Linked DNA regions of Homo sapiens: regions 1, 3 and 4 are each linked to region 2. Evidence: promoter capture Hi-C in 16 types of primary human blood cells and fetal thymus (Javierre and others, 2016). All regions are on one chromosome and are shown on one strand. Each heading gives the region's core, a stretch centred on a gene start or on the middle of the fragment in contact. The rest is flanking DNA. Distances are from core to core; before and after follow the strand shown.

Region 1 (2,700 bases), core at 83-2,582, 1.0 Mb after region 2:
TTTGCTGGAGTCTGCTTCTTAAGCCACTCTCTGTGGCACTGGTGCTTAGGAAACCCAGTTGTTAGTGTGAGCTGTGGCTCAATGAAGACACCTGTAGAAACCACCTGAAAGGACGGACTAAGAACCAGTGCTTTCCAAGTAATTGGTCTTGCCTCAGATCACTTCACTTGTGTCTCCTAAGCTCAGTTTGCCTGTAGGAGGCCTTGCTGCTGTGGAACCCATTGCTTTCTTCCAAGACCTTTCCCCCTGCACCTGCCTGAGCTACTCCAGGAGCTGCTTTCTCTTTGTGCGAAGAGGGCATGACTTGGTCTGCTCTTCCCCATCGCAAGGATTCTGTGCCAGAAATTGGGTCAGGTTCTACCATGGCTCCAGCAACTGTCCTTGGAGAATGAAAGCTTCCTCAATGGGCTTGAGCACCTGGGCACCCTTTCCCTCACCTCACCTGGGGAGAAGAGGTCGTCCTGAAGGTGATGAACAGGAGGGTACTGGCCAGCGAGGGGTCAGCGTGGCAAGGTGTGATAACTGCTGGCACTATCTGTGCATATGGCCTCTTCATCCTTGGCTCTTACGGCCCTACCTTTCCAGCCTGCTATCTGCCCACAGAAGAGGGTGGGACCCAAGAGTGGCGTTAAAGAGTCTATTCCAACTCCATCAACTGCAACTGCAGGCTTGTCTCTGCTTTCGGTTATTACCTGCGTGACAGCAATTGTCCTCACGGCCTTTTCGGGGACTGCTGCAGGTGAACCTGCACGTGGAGAATGCGCAGAATGTGGGCCTTGGGTCCTGGGCAGGGTCTAAGGATAGGCATGCATTAGTCCTTGGCGCCGTCAACGCCGGATCCCAGGCAGGAGATGCCAACGAGGGTGATGTGGGGTTTGCTCAAGCCTAGTCCTAGGACTGAGGGGATACTACATAAAGAGACCACTGACTGGGTCAATGCCCCAGATCCCAACGGCCATGGAAGCTGCCACTCCTGCTCCAATCAGCGCGGGCTCCAGTGCCTGCAAGAGGAGATAGCTGGACCCAGAGCGGCAAAGCACGGCTGGGAGCACAAAGCGTTAGGTCGTCTCGCCGGCCTCTCAGGGTTCACTACACTCCGCGTAGCCTCAAGCATCGGCCATGCGGGCCGCGCGGTGGCGCCAGAGCGCGCGGCCGGTCCCACTCACCCAGCACTCACAGGGTCACCTGGCACTGGGCGACGCAGCGCGATGAGGCAGGCCCGGCGCGGGTCTTGCTCCGCCCGCCGCAGAGTCACGTGGCAGGACGGCGCACCTTGATAACGCAATGCCCGGCCCCTCGGCGCCGCTCCCGCCCCGCCCCGCCGCCACCGCCGCGCCGAGTCCTTTTGTCCAAGATGGCGGCGCCGGGGGCGCTGCCTCCTCGGCCGCCGCCTCCGCCGCCGCCGCTGTGAGAAACCTACGGGCCGCCCGCCCGCCGCGCCAGCGCCATGAAGCGGCAGAGCGAGCGAGACTCTAGCCCGAGCGGGCGCGGCTCGTCATCGTCCGCCAAGCGTCCGCGGGAGCGCGAACGGGAGGCGGAGGCGGGCGGGCGGCGGGCGGCGCACAAGGCCTCTGGCGGCGCCAAGCACCCGGTTCCAGCGCGGGCCCGCGACAAACCCCGCGGCAGCGGAAGCGGCGGGGGCGGGCATCGCGACGGCCGCGGCACCGGGGACGCGAATCACCGCGCGAGTAGCGGGCGCTCCTCGGGCTCCGGCGCTGGCGGCGGGGGACGCGGCGGCAAGGCCTCGGGGGACCCGGGCGCCTCCGGCATGTCGCCCCGCGCGTCTCCTCTGCCGCCGCCTCCGCCACCGCCTGGGGCCGAGCCCGCGTGTCCCGGCTCATCCGCGGCCGCGCCTGAGTACAAGACGTTGCTCATCAGCAGCTTGAGCCCCGCGCTGCCCGCCGAGCACCTCGAGGACCGGCTCTTCCACCAGTTCAAGCGCTTCGGCGAGATCAGCCTCCGCCTGTCGCACACGCCTGAGCTGGGCCGTGTGGCCTACGTGAATTTCCGGCACCCACAGGACGCACGCGAGGCCCGCCAGCACGCCCTGGCCCGGCAGCTGCTGCTCTACGACCGCCCGCTCAAGGTAGAGCCCGTGTACCTGCGTGGCGGCGGCGGGAGCAGTCGGCGAAGTAGCAGCAGCAGCGCCGCCGCTTCCACGCCTCCCCCAGGGCCGCCCGCGCCCGCCGACCCGCTCGGCTACCTCCCGCTACACGGAGGCTACCAGTACAAGCAGCGCTCGCTGTCCCCCGTCGCTGCCCCGCCCCTGCGGGAGCCCCGTGCCCGTCACGCCGCCGCAGCCTTCGCCCTGGATGCCGCTGCTGCCGCCGCCGTGGGACTGTCCCGGGAGCGGGCCCTGGACTACTACGGGCTGTACGACGACCGTGGGCGCCCCTATGGCTACCCAGCTGTGTGTGAGGAGGACCTGATGCCCGAGGATGACCAGCGGGCCACGCGCAACCTCTTCATTGGTAACCTGGACCACAGCGTATCTGAGGTGGAGCTGCGAAGGGCCTTCGAGAAATATGGCATCATCGAGGAGGTGGTCATCAAGAGGCCTGCCCGTGGCCAGGGCGGTGCCTATGCCTTCCTCAAGTTCCAGAACCTGGACATGGCCCATAGGGCTAAGGTGGCCATGTCGGGCCGAGTGATTGGTCGCAACCCCATTAAGATAGGCTATGGCAAGGCCAACCCCACCAC
Region 2 (2,700 bases), core at 72-2,571:
TTCTGCTTGCTCTCCTCCATGGACACGAAGCTGCTCTCTAGCTAGACAGAGCATGGAAAGCATGGTGGGCACATCCCAGGACCCCTGGCTGGTTGGCTGCCCTGAGTCCTGAGCTGGTTTGCAGGGTCCCAGGTTTGGGGGACTTTGGAGACATGGGAACACCTTCCCCAACTCTGCCTGTCGGTAAACCCAAGCCCATCTCATTGCAGACCTCTAGTGTGGTCAGATAGCCAGCCAGCTTTTTAACAATGGGCTCGAGGGCGCAGGTCTTGGCCTGGGCATCACACACGAAGCCCAGGTTGAAGAGGAGAGCATTGCGGCTGTACTTCTTGTGTTCGATGCACACAGGACAGCCGATCAGCTTCTTTTCCATAGCTGTGCTGGATAATTGGAACACAGTCAGGCCCCCAAGCCTGTCCCTTCCTCCTCCTGGGACAACCCCTGCCACCCACCGCTCACCCCGAGCTAGGGTCTCACACAGTGATAAGCTTGTTCTGCAGCTCTGGCTTGGTGATGATGTACACTTGGACTGTGTCAAACAGCTCTCGGGAGATGAAGTCTTCAGGGACCTGGGGAGGGGAGTGGCAATGGGCCCCTCAGTGGACATCTGTACTGGGTGTAGTACAAATGGTGACCTCCTCATGCCCCCCAAGCCCAAGTCCTCTTCTCCAGCGTTCCCCTCTCTCCCATCCACTCAGGCCTATTACTTCTTTCTGTTTCCAAACATACGCTATGATCTCACCTCCTTCCTGGCTTCTGCATATGCTGTTCCCTCTACCTGGAACACTTTCTCCTGCCTTACCTAAACTTCCTATGCATCATTTACTCTTCACTCAGTTCAGGGATACTCATGGGTCACCCAACTCACCTTCTGTGGGACCTGGAACCCCCCAACCGGATCCCTACAGCCCGATATCCTACAAACACTGCCAATGTGACGTATGTCTTCCCTGCCACATTGGGAGCCGGGGGCCTGGGTCTGACTATCCTCTAGCCTCACAGTTGTCTGCGAATGAAGCAGCATGCCTGCGTGCAGCACGGGAAACTACTGCCTTCAGGCAGCCAGTTGAGCTCTCGAGAACGTCCCTCTTCCCGCCCAGTCCCGCGAGCCCGGGTGGCACCTGATAGGTGATCTTGGGTCCCAGCGTGGGGTGGAACTCGCTGAAGAATATGCATTCGATGCGGCAGCCGCTGCCCATGGCAATAACCGGGCCCAGGCCCGTAGCTCCTCGTTCCTCGCGCAGAGGCGTCCCCACCTCCTGTGAACACTTGTCAGAGACAGCCTCGAGGCCTGTGTCGCTGGGGCACGCAAGCTTGCCAATCCCTCTGCCCAATGGCGCCTGCGCAGCGCGACTCAGAGGCGTGGCTGGGGCGGGGGACGGCTCGTCCCAGGAAGTCCTGGGTGGGTAGACGTCGCACCCGGAAGTAAAGCGGCTCCGTGACGGAGCGGCGGTGCGCGCGGCAGGGCCCGGAGTATCCCGCTTTCTTTGGAGGAAACCACCGCATCAGATCTGCGCTGCGGCAGAGGCAGGCAAGTCCCTAGCGTGGAGGGGCAGCATGCTGGCAGCACTTGGGGAGGCGGTGCGCTAAGGGATTCACGCTGTAACTGGGACCGCAGCAGGGAACTACAATTTCCATAGTGCTCCGCGCCCTCCCAGCTGGCTCTACTGCCGGCGACGGCGTGGTACACGCTGGGATTTGTAGTCTTACATGGCTTTGCGCCTCCTACCTGGAAGGCGGGCCAGCGATTGGTACCAGTTCAGACATGGGTACACGTTGACAGGCCGCCGGCCGTCGACTGGCATGTTGTGACCATTCCTGGTGCTGGTCTTGGTACTGTTCTTTCCTACCATAACTTATTGGAAGAGGGTGGCATTCCTGCCTTGCAGCCTTTTCTCCAGTGAGGAGTGAACAGTGGGCACCTGAGATCCTGGCCCACGCTACTATGCTTTCAGGCTACAACCACTAGCACGGCTGACGATGGCCCTTTCTGCGGAGACCGAGTCACACATCTACCGAGCTCTGCGTACTGCTTCTGGCGCTGCCGCCCACCTTGTGGCCCTGGGCTTTACCATCTTTGTGGCTGTGCTTGCCAGGCCTGGCTCCAGTAAGTAGAATTCATAGCTGACTTCTGGGAAGGGAAGGGCCACTGTTCCTGGGGAGGAAGGGCAGTGGGACTTCCGGGAACAGGCCTGGCTGGTTGAGGGAATTCTGTGCTGGAGCGATGAGTGAGGTGGAGCAGGTAGGTATGGCCAGGGCACACAGAATTCCTGGTTTGTCTTTCCTTCTCTGGGTGCTCCATTTGGCTGCCTCTCAGGAGGTGTAAGGGAAGGAGGGAGGACTGCCAGAGGAGTGGCAAAGCATGGCCTCTGATCCAGGAAGAGGCCAGGAAGAGAGGATAGGTGTGGGGTCAGCTTGTTGCAGAGCAAGAAGGGGCTCACAGTTTGGCAGCACCTCCTTGGGTGATGGGCTGCTGGTATTCCTCAACCCTTAAGGATTGGTATGGCTGGTTTCTTCTTGCCTCAGCCCCATGAGGCCTCCTCTTCTCATTCCAGGCCTGTTCTCCTGGCACCCGGTGCTTATGTCTTTGGCTGTAAGTAGTGGGCCTGGGCAGTTCTTAGGGGTGGGAGCATGGGCATGGTTGGTGGCCCTGGCAGCCTCTGAATCTTTGTCCACATTTAATATCTGTTTGGAAGAGTT
Region 3 (2,700 bases), core at 49-2,548, 1.1 Mb after region 2:
CTATAGGTTCACTTTAGGGTCATAAATGTTTGTTTTTCTTTCCTCAATGGCAGAATCTAACTCAAGTTACATTTCAATTCTTTAAGAAAATGAGGCCTTTCAGGAATCAACACATTCAGCTCTGACCAGGTGTGTGTAATCAGTAAAGACTCTTAACATCCGCTTCTAGGCAGTGGAGAACACACAGGAAGCACAGCACACAGTGTGTCCCAGACTCCAAAATGGAGTGGAAAACAGAGAGCATTATTCCTTTGTTGAGTTTTTTATTATAAATTTAAGGTTAAGTATAATTAGCTAAAATGTATTGGCTTGTCAAAATCTAGGAGCAATGATCAATTACTTATCTTGGGTTTTGTAACTTTTCTAAAAGTCAAATCAAAGATGAATGAACTGATTTCTAAAAACACAGGCACCAGGTTGGGCGCGGTGGCTCATGCCTATAATCCCAGCACTTTGGGAGGCCGAGGTGGGCGGATCACCTGAGGTCAGGAGTTCGAGATCAGCCTGGCTAACATGGTGAAACCCCATCTCTACTAAAAATACAGAATTGGCCGGTTGTGGTGGCAGGCGCCTACAATCCCAGCTACTCAGGGAGGCTGAGGCAGATTTGCCTGAACCTGGGAGGTGGAGGTTGCAGTGAGCCAAGATCGCAACACTGCGCTCCAGCCTGGGTGACAGGGCGAGACTCCATCTCAAAAAAAAAAAAAAAAAAAAAAAAACAACCAGATACCAAACTTCTAATGGATAATAATGAGCTGTGATAGGTGACTAGCTTATCTCTGCTTTCATCAAATGCCTGAAGGCAGGCAGACTAGCAGCCTCAGGAACCAAATATTTATGGGTGTCCAATACATTGTTTAGGTTTTCATTCATCTAGATACAGCTAGCTGTACCTTTCATCCTTTCCTCTTAATCTCCAAGCTTATTTAAGCATAAGGACAAAGGACAAATATTTTATGGCATGTCAATTATATCTCGATAAAGCTCTTTATGCTGGACCATTTTATTAGATGACGGCTGACCATTCAGGCTTCTGAATTTATTTTGCTATAATGAAAAGGCAAATTCAAAGGTGTTGGTCACAGGTGCCTGTATCCCTGAGCCACATAAGTCATATCTGGAACATCTGAGAAGACCTGAGAACAGATATCTAGACTAGGACAAAACTTTGAATAGCAAATGATTCATAGGAAAATGAAAAGTCTCTAGTTTTAAAATCAGGTGAAGCGTACAAAGCAAAGTAAAACTAGAGACTGGTTTTCCTACAAAGGAAAGTGAGTTTAAAAAAAATTCAAGCTGGCACACTGTGCATGAGAGGCAGTAGGCAGAAATCTGATGGAGATAGTAAAAACAGCCAAACTCCACCACAAGATTCTAGAAGGAGCATGGATCAACAGAATTAAGGTTACAAAAGAGACCTACTCAAATAGATACGGTATTATCCCGTATCTCTAAATCAAACATCTCTAAATCAAAAATCAAAATGCCAAGGGCTTGAGGGGATAAGCAGTTCTCTAACAGAGGTCCTTCAAACATGAAATGCACCAGATGATCAATAAAAGCTGTAATATCAGTATGGAGTGAAACATGCCTAGATCCTAAGAAATCTGGAAGCCACAGTAATAACTTAGCCATGTTGCACACCTACCCTGCCACCTAGTCTTCTCTGAGCTAGAAAGCTTTCCGGCTCTTCTACAGGCTGGGCTCCAGAGCCACTCCTTAGAGCCCTCTTGACCCTGCCCCTCTCACTCTTGGCTGTCACGCTGAGGCAGCCTCTTGCTTTCCTTCCTGCATCCAAGTCAAAAGTCCTGACCACTACCATATGCCCTTCCTAATCTCTTTCTCCCTTAACTTCTCAGAAGTTAAGCAGGACAAAAGAAGAAGAATTAGTCAGTCTTTTCCCTGACCCAAGCCTTCCTGGAGAGAGTGGGATAAGAGGAGTATAACTCTTAAATTATTCCCTTATGGTGGCCTCTCGCTTCCACAGCCAGCCACCAACCTCCAGTGCCTTTGCCTCTCACCACTCCATGTCTGCAAGAATAAGGCGAACCCAGAGAATAGCCTTCCAACTCCCAAGGTGTCTAGGGCAATCTCAACTTTCCTCTGAGTTGACCTCCCCCTCAAAGACAGACACCAGGCATCACATGGACCCAGGTGATGGTTCCCAGAGAAGACTGCCGCCCACTGCCTTATTAAATGCACGGATATGGGAGGGCTGGGATAATGATGTTGACAAACAATCCAGTTTTGGCCTCAGATTTATGCTTCAACATGTAACATCCAAGAAGCCTGATTCAGAACTGATACTTGGTAGTGATGAATAAACCCACGGAGGACAAAGCAGTCGACAGCCACCCATACCATTGTAATGTACGCGCAAATGGCCTGACAACTGCACCCTCTGTATGGACTCAAGAATAAACTACATCTTGTTTCATGATAGCTAATGTGAAAAAGTAGGCATTAAGGGAGTGAGGTGTCTAAGGTAGCAAACTGAAGTGAGAATAAAAGAACAGGCAGTATTAAGAAACCCACTCAAGGCAACCACATGAAATTTGGAGGACCTAATACCAAGCTCTGCTACCCAGAAAGACTAGAAACATGTACAAGCTGTAACAGCACAGCACTCAAGAAAACACTAAAATCCATGTCACAAATAAATCAAAGATTTCAAGTATCCACTGGAAAACCTCTCCCTTC
Region 4 (2,700 bases), core at 73-2,572, 1.1 Mb after region 2:
CATAGATTGCTTAATCTTTTATCTTATTTATAACTAGACTCACAATATGATTTGTCCAAAAAGATAACAAAAGTTTCCTTTGTGCATATAAGTTACAGCTTAAGAGAAAGAAGCATCATGTGACTGATTTCAATTTGTGACTTTTTTTTTTCTTGAGACTGGTTCTCACTCTGTTGCCCAGACTGGAGTGCCATAGCCCGATCACGTGCGGCCTCAAACCCCCAGACTCGAGTGACTCTCCCATCTCAGCCTCCCAAGTAGCTGACACAGGTGTACCACCATGCCCTTTTTTTTTTTTTTTTTTTTGAGACAGTCTCTGCCCAGACTGGAGTGCAGTGATATGATCGTAGCTCACTGCAGTCTTGAACTCCTGGGTTCAAATGATCCTCCCACCTCTGCCTCCCAAGTAGCTAGAACTACAGATGCACACCACAGGGCCCAGCCAATTTTTAAAATTTTTGTAAAGACAGGGTCTCACTATTGTTGCCCAGGCTGGTCTCAAGAAATCTGCTGGTGATTTTTTAAAAAACATGCAGCTACTCGTCATTATCCCAAAACATATCAAATTCCACAATGATAGTGAAGTGGAGTTATAAACACATTTTCAGAAAAGAAATTCTGCACAGAAGGCAAATCATCTAGTACTTTTCATACAAAAAAGCTCTTTGCCAGGTACAGTGGCTCACACCTGTAATTCTAGCACTTTGGGAGGTCGAGGTGGGAGGACTGCTTGAGTCCAGGAGTTCCAAGACCAGCCAGGACAACATAGTGAGACCCCCATCTCCACAAAAAAATTTAAAAATTAGCTGGGTGTGGTGGTGTGTGCCTATAGTCCCCCAACTACTCAGGAGGTTGAGGTGGGAGGATCACCTGAACCTGGGAGGTTAATGTTGCAATGAGGTGTGGTCACATCACTGCACTCCAGCCTGGGTGACAGAGGGAGACGTATCTCAAAAAGAAAAAAAGAAAGCTTTTTTATACACACTTCAGTTAATCTTTTAGTTCTAGAATCCCAGCAACTTACAACTGGAAGCAAAATAATTCCCTGAAATTCACCTATTACATCCATTTTTCAATTGTTCTGCCTTCATACAGGGAAGTATACTCCAACAATGGACATAGCACAGAGTCCACTGATCTGAATGTGAGTTTCAGGACTGAGATGCTACAGAGAGGGCTAACAGAACTTTCCCTTTCAAGGCAAGGTCCTCTCACCTTGTACGGGGGTTGTGGGTGGACAAGAATGCCACCCTCAGTCCTCTGAAGTGACTGCTTCACTTGTTCCAATTTAATGGCCAGGTGAGCCTCAAAGTATTTGCGCAAGGCCATGCAGGTATGTTTCCCAGTTTGGCGGCTAGCAAATATTTCATCATCACTCAGAAGTGCACCCTGATCTTCCAAATTTAGAATCTCCAAAGTACTGATCTATTAAGATGCAAAATATTGGGGCAAAAGAGGGGAAAAGGCAAGAAGAGTTAAGTAAAAATATTTAAAAAAGGGAAAATATTTTAGTAAACTTTTTTTACTTTCCATACATATTCTGCTTATGTATCAGTAAACTTTTATGCTTAACAAGACTGACAAATATCAACGCATATTTATGTATATCTATGTATATAGCATGCTAACAGTAGCTATATGAAAGCAAAACATTAAACTCATACCAAAAAATGAACAAGCTTTTAATCATATTAAAAAATGTACAGGAATAAAACTATTGCTTTTACAAAGATCAAGATCATCAACTGCCAATCCCCGTTATAAGATTACTATATCCAAGGCAAGTCTACAACGGCACAGTGTCCTCTAACTACTAAAGAAAAAGAGAAATTTGTGAAGAAAGGGAAAAAAAAAAAACTTCACAAAAAGAATGGCAGCAAAACTCCTCTAATCAGAAGCTTCCTTTCTTCAAGGGTGTGCCGTTAAAGGGCAGCCAAGACAACCAGGACCCTCAATCCTAGGGAGAAAAGCACTGAAAGAACCTCACCAAGTTCACCAGACGACGAAGACCATCATAGCGGTCAAAGAGCTCCAAGACGGCCCGAAATGAGAAGCAAATTGAAAAAAACATGGTAGCATGGCAGCATCCTGAAGCATGAGAACACTCCATTAACCACAGGGTATAGTTCACCACATCAGACAGAACATTGTGGGGATGCATGCAAACCTGCAAAAAAATACAAATAAAACAATGCTTTTAAATTGTGGGCAAAGGAGCCCTTGAACAGGATGGAAAATTTGCCAGTATAGATATCTGCAGAATACAATGACCATCTCCAATCAAGTCACTCTTAGTACAAAGTTTAGGTAATAATACAAAGGCAATTTTAGAACACGATCCATTCCAAACCTGAAAACGACCTAAATTTAGATAAATATTTAAATACAACCTATACTTACTGAGTGCCAACAAATATTTACATCATTTAATGCTCACGAGGGCTCCATTATACAGGTATTAGGATTCTCACTTAAAAGAAGAGGAAGAGGTAAGGAACTTCTCCAAATGTGATAAAAGTGGCTCAGATTTCTGATCCTAAGTCTAGGAGTTTGGTATTCATTCTCTGGTTAATTCACACACATTTTGATGTCTACTATGGGTCAGAAAATGAAACTGTAAAGCATCCCCAGGTTTCCTTGATATTTTTTTCTCTATCTTAGCCATAAGTAATTTTGTATGTACACACATAGATTAGTTTA

The links. The method cuts DNA at HindIII sites, captures the fragments that hold promoters and counts their contacts. A CHiCAGO score of 5 or more calls a contact.
Region 1: the fragment with the promoter of RBM15B here is called in contact with the fragment with the promoter of NPRL2 in region 2 in 8 of 17 cell types (erythroblasts, naive CD8 T cells, megakaryocytes and 5 more); the score reaches 12.1 in erythroblasts.
Region 3: a contact is called between a fragment that was not itself captured here and the fragment with the promoter of NPRL2 in region 2, in 1 of 17 cell types (endothelial precursors). The highest score is 5.8, in endothelial precursors.
Region 4: a contact is called between a fragment that was not itself captured here and the fragment with the promoter of NPRL2 in region 2, in 1 of 17 cell types (endothelial precursors). The highest score is 5.1, in endothelial precursors.

Annotation. Positions count from the first base shown.
Region 1 is chr3:51,389,953-51,392,652 of GRCh38, forward strand. RBM15B (RNA binding motif protein 15B) reads left to right here and starts at 1,333. Exons shown (of 1, transcript NM_013286.5): 1 at 1,333-2,700. The coding sequence starts at 1,448. RefSeq lists an enhancer at 807-856 and silencers at 1,177-1,656, 1,697-1,776, 1,887-1,946. The HindIII fragment of the contact is 3,377 bases long and covers 394-2,700 here.
Region 2 is chr3:50,349,454-50,352,153 of GRCh38, forward strand. It overlaps NPRL2 (NPR2 like, GATOR1 complex subunit), which reads right to left and starts at 1,322. Exons shown (of 11, transcript NM_006545.5): 1 at 1,122-1,322; 2 at 478-569; 3 at 212-380; 4 at 1-41. The coding sequence starts at 1,199. CYB561D2 (cytochrome b561 family member D2) reads left to right here and starts at 1,409. Exons shown (of 4, transcript NM_001291284.2): 1 at 1,409-1,531; 2 at 1,956-2,107; 3 at 2,556-2,593. The coding sequence starts at 1,981. It overlaps LOC127898564 (CYB561D2-LOC101928965), which reads left to right and starts at 1,409. Exons shown (of 5, transcript NR_183066.1): 1 at 1,409-1,531; 2 at 1,956-2,107. RefSeq lists an enhancer at 1,364-1,583. The HindIII fragment of the contact is 2,178 bases long and covers 1,312-2,700 here.
Region 3 is chr3:51,407,291-51,409,990 of GRCh38, forward strand. All of the region lies in intron 23 of DCAF1 (DDB1 and CUL4 associated factor 1), which reads right to left. Among named protein-coding and RNA genes, the nearest start is that of RBM15B, 17 kb to the left of the region's middle. The HindIII fragment of the contact is 758 bases long and covers 920-1,677 here.
Region 4 is chr3:51,428,046-51,430,745 of GRCh38, forward strand. DCAF1 (DDB1 and CUL4 associated factor 1) reads right to left here. Exons shown (of 25, transcript NM_001387579.1): 11 at 1,988-2,167; 12 at 1,216-1,425. Among named protein-coding and RNA genes, the nearest start is that of RBM15B, 38 kb to the left of the region's middle. The HindIII fragment of the contact is 709 bases long and covers 969-1,677 here.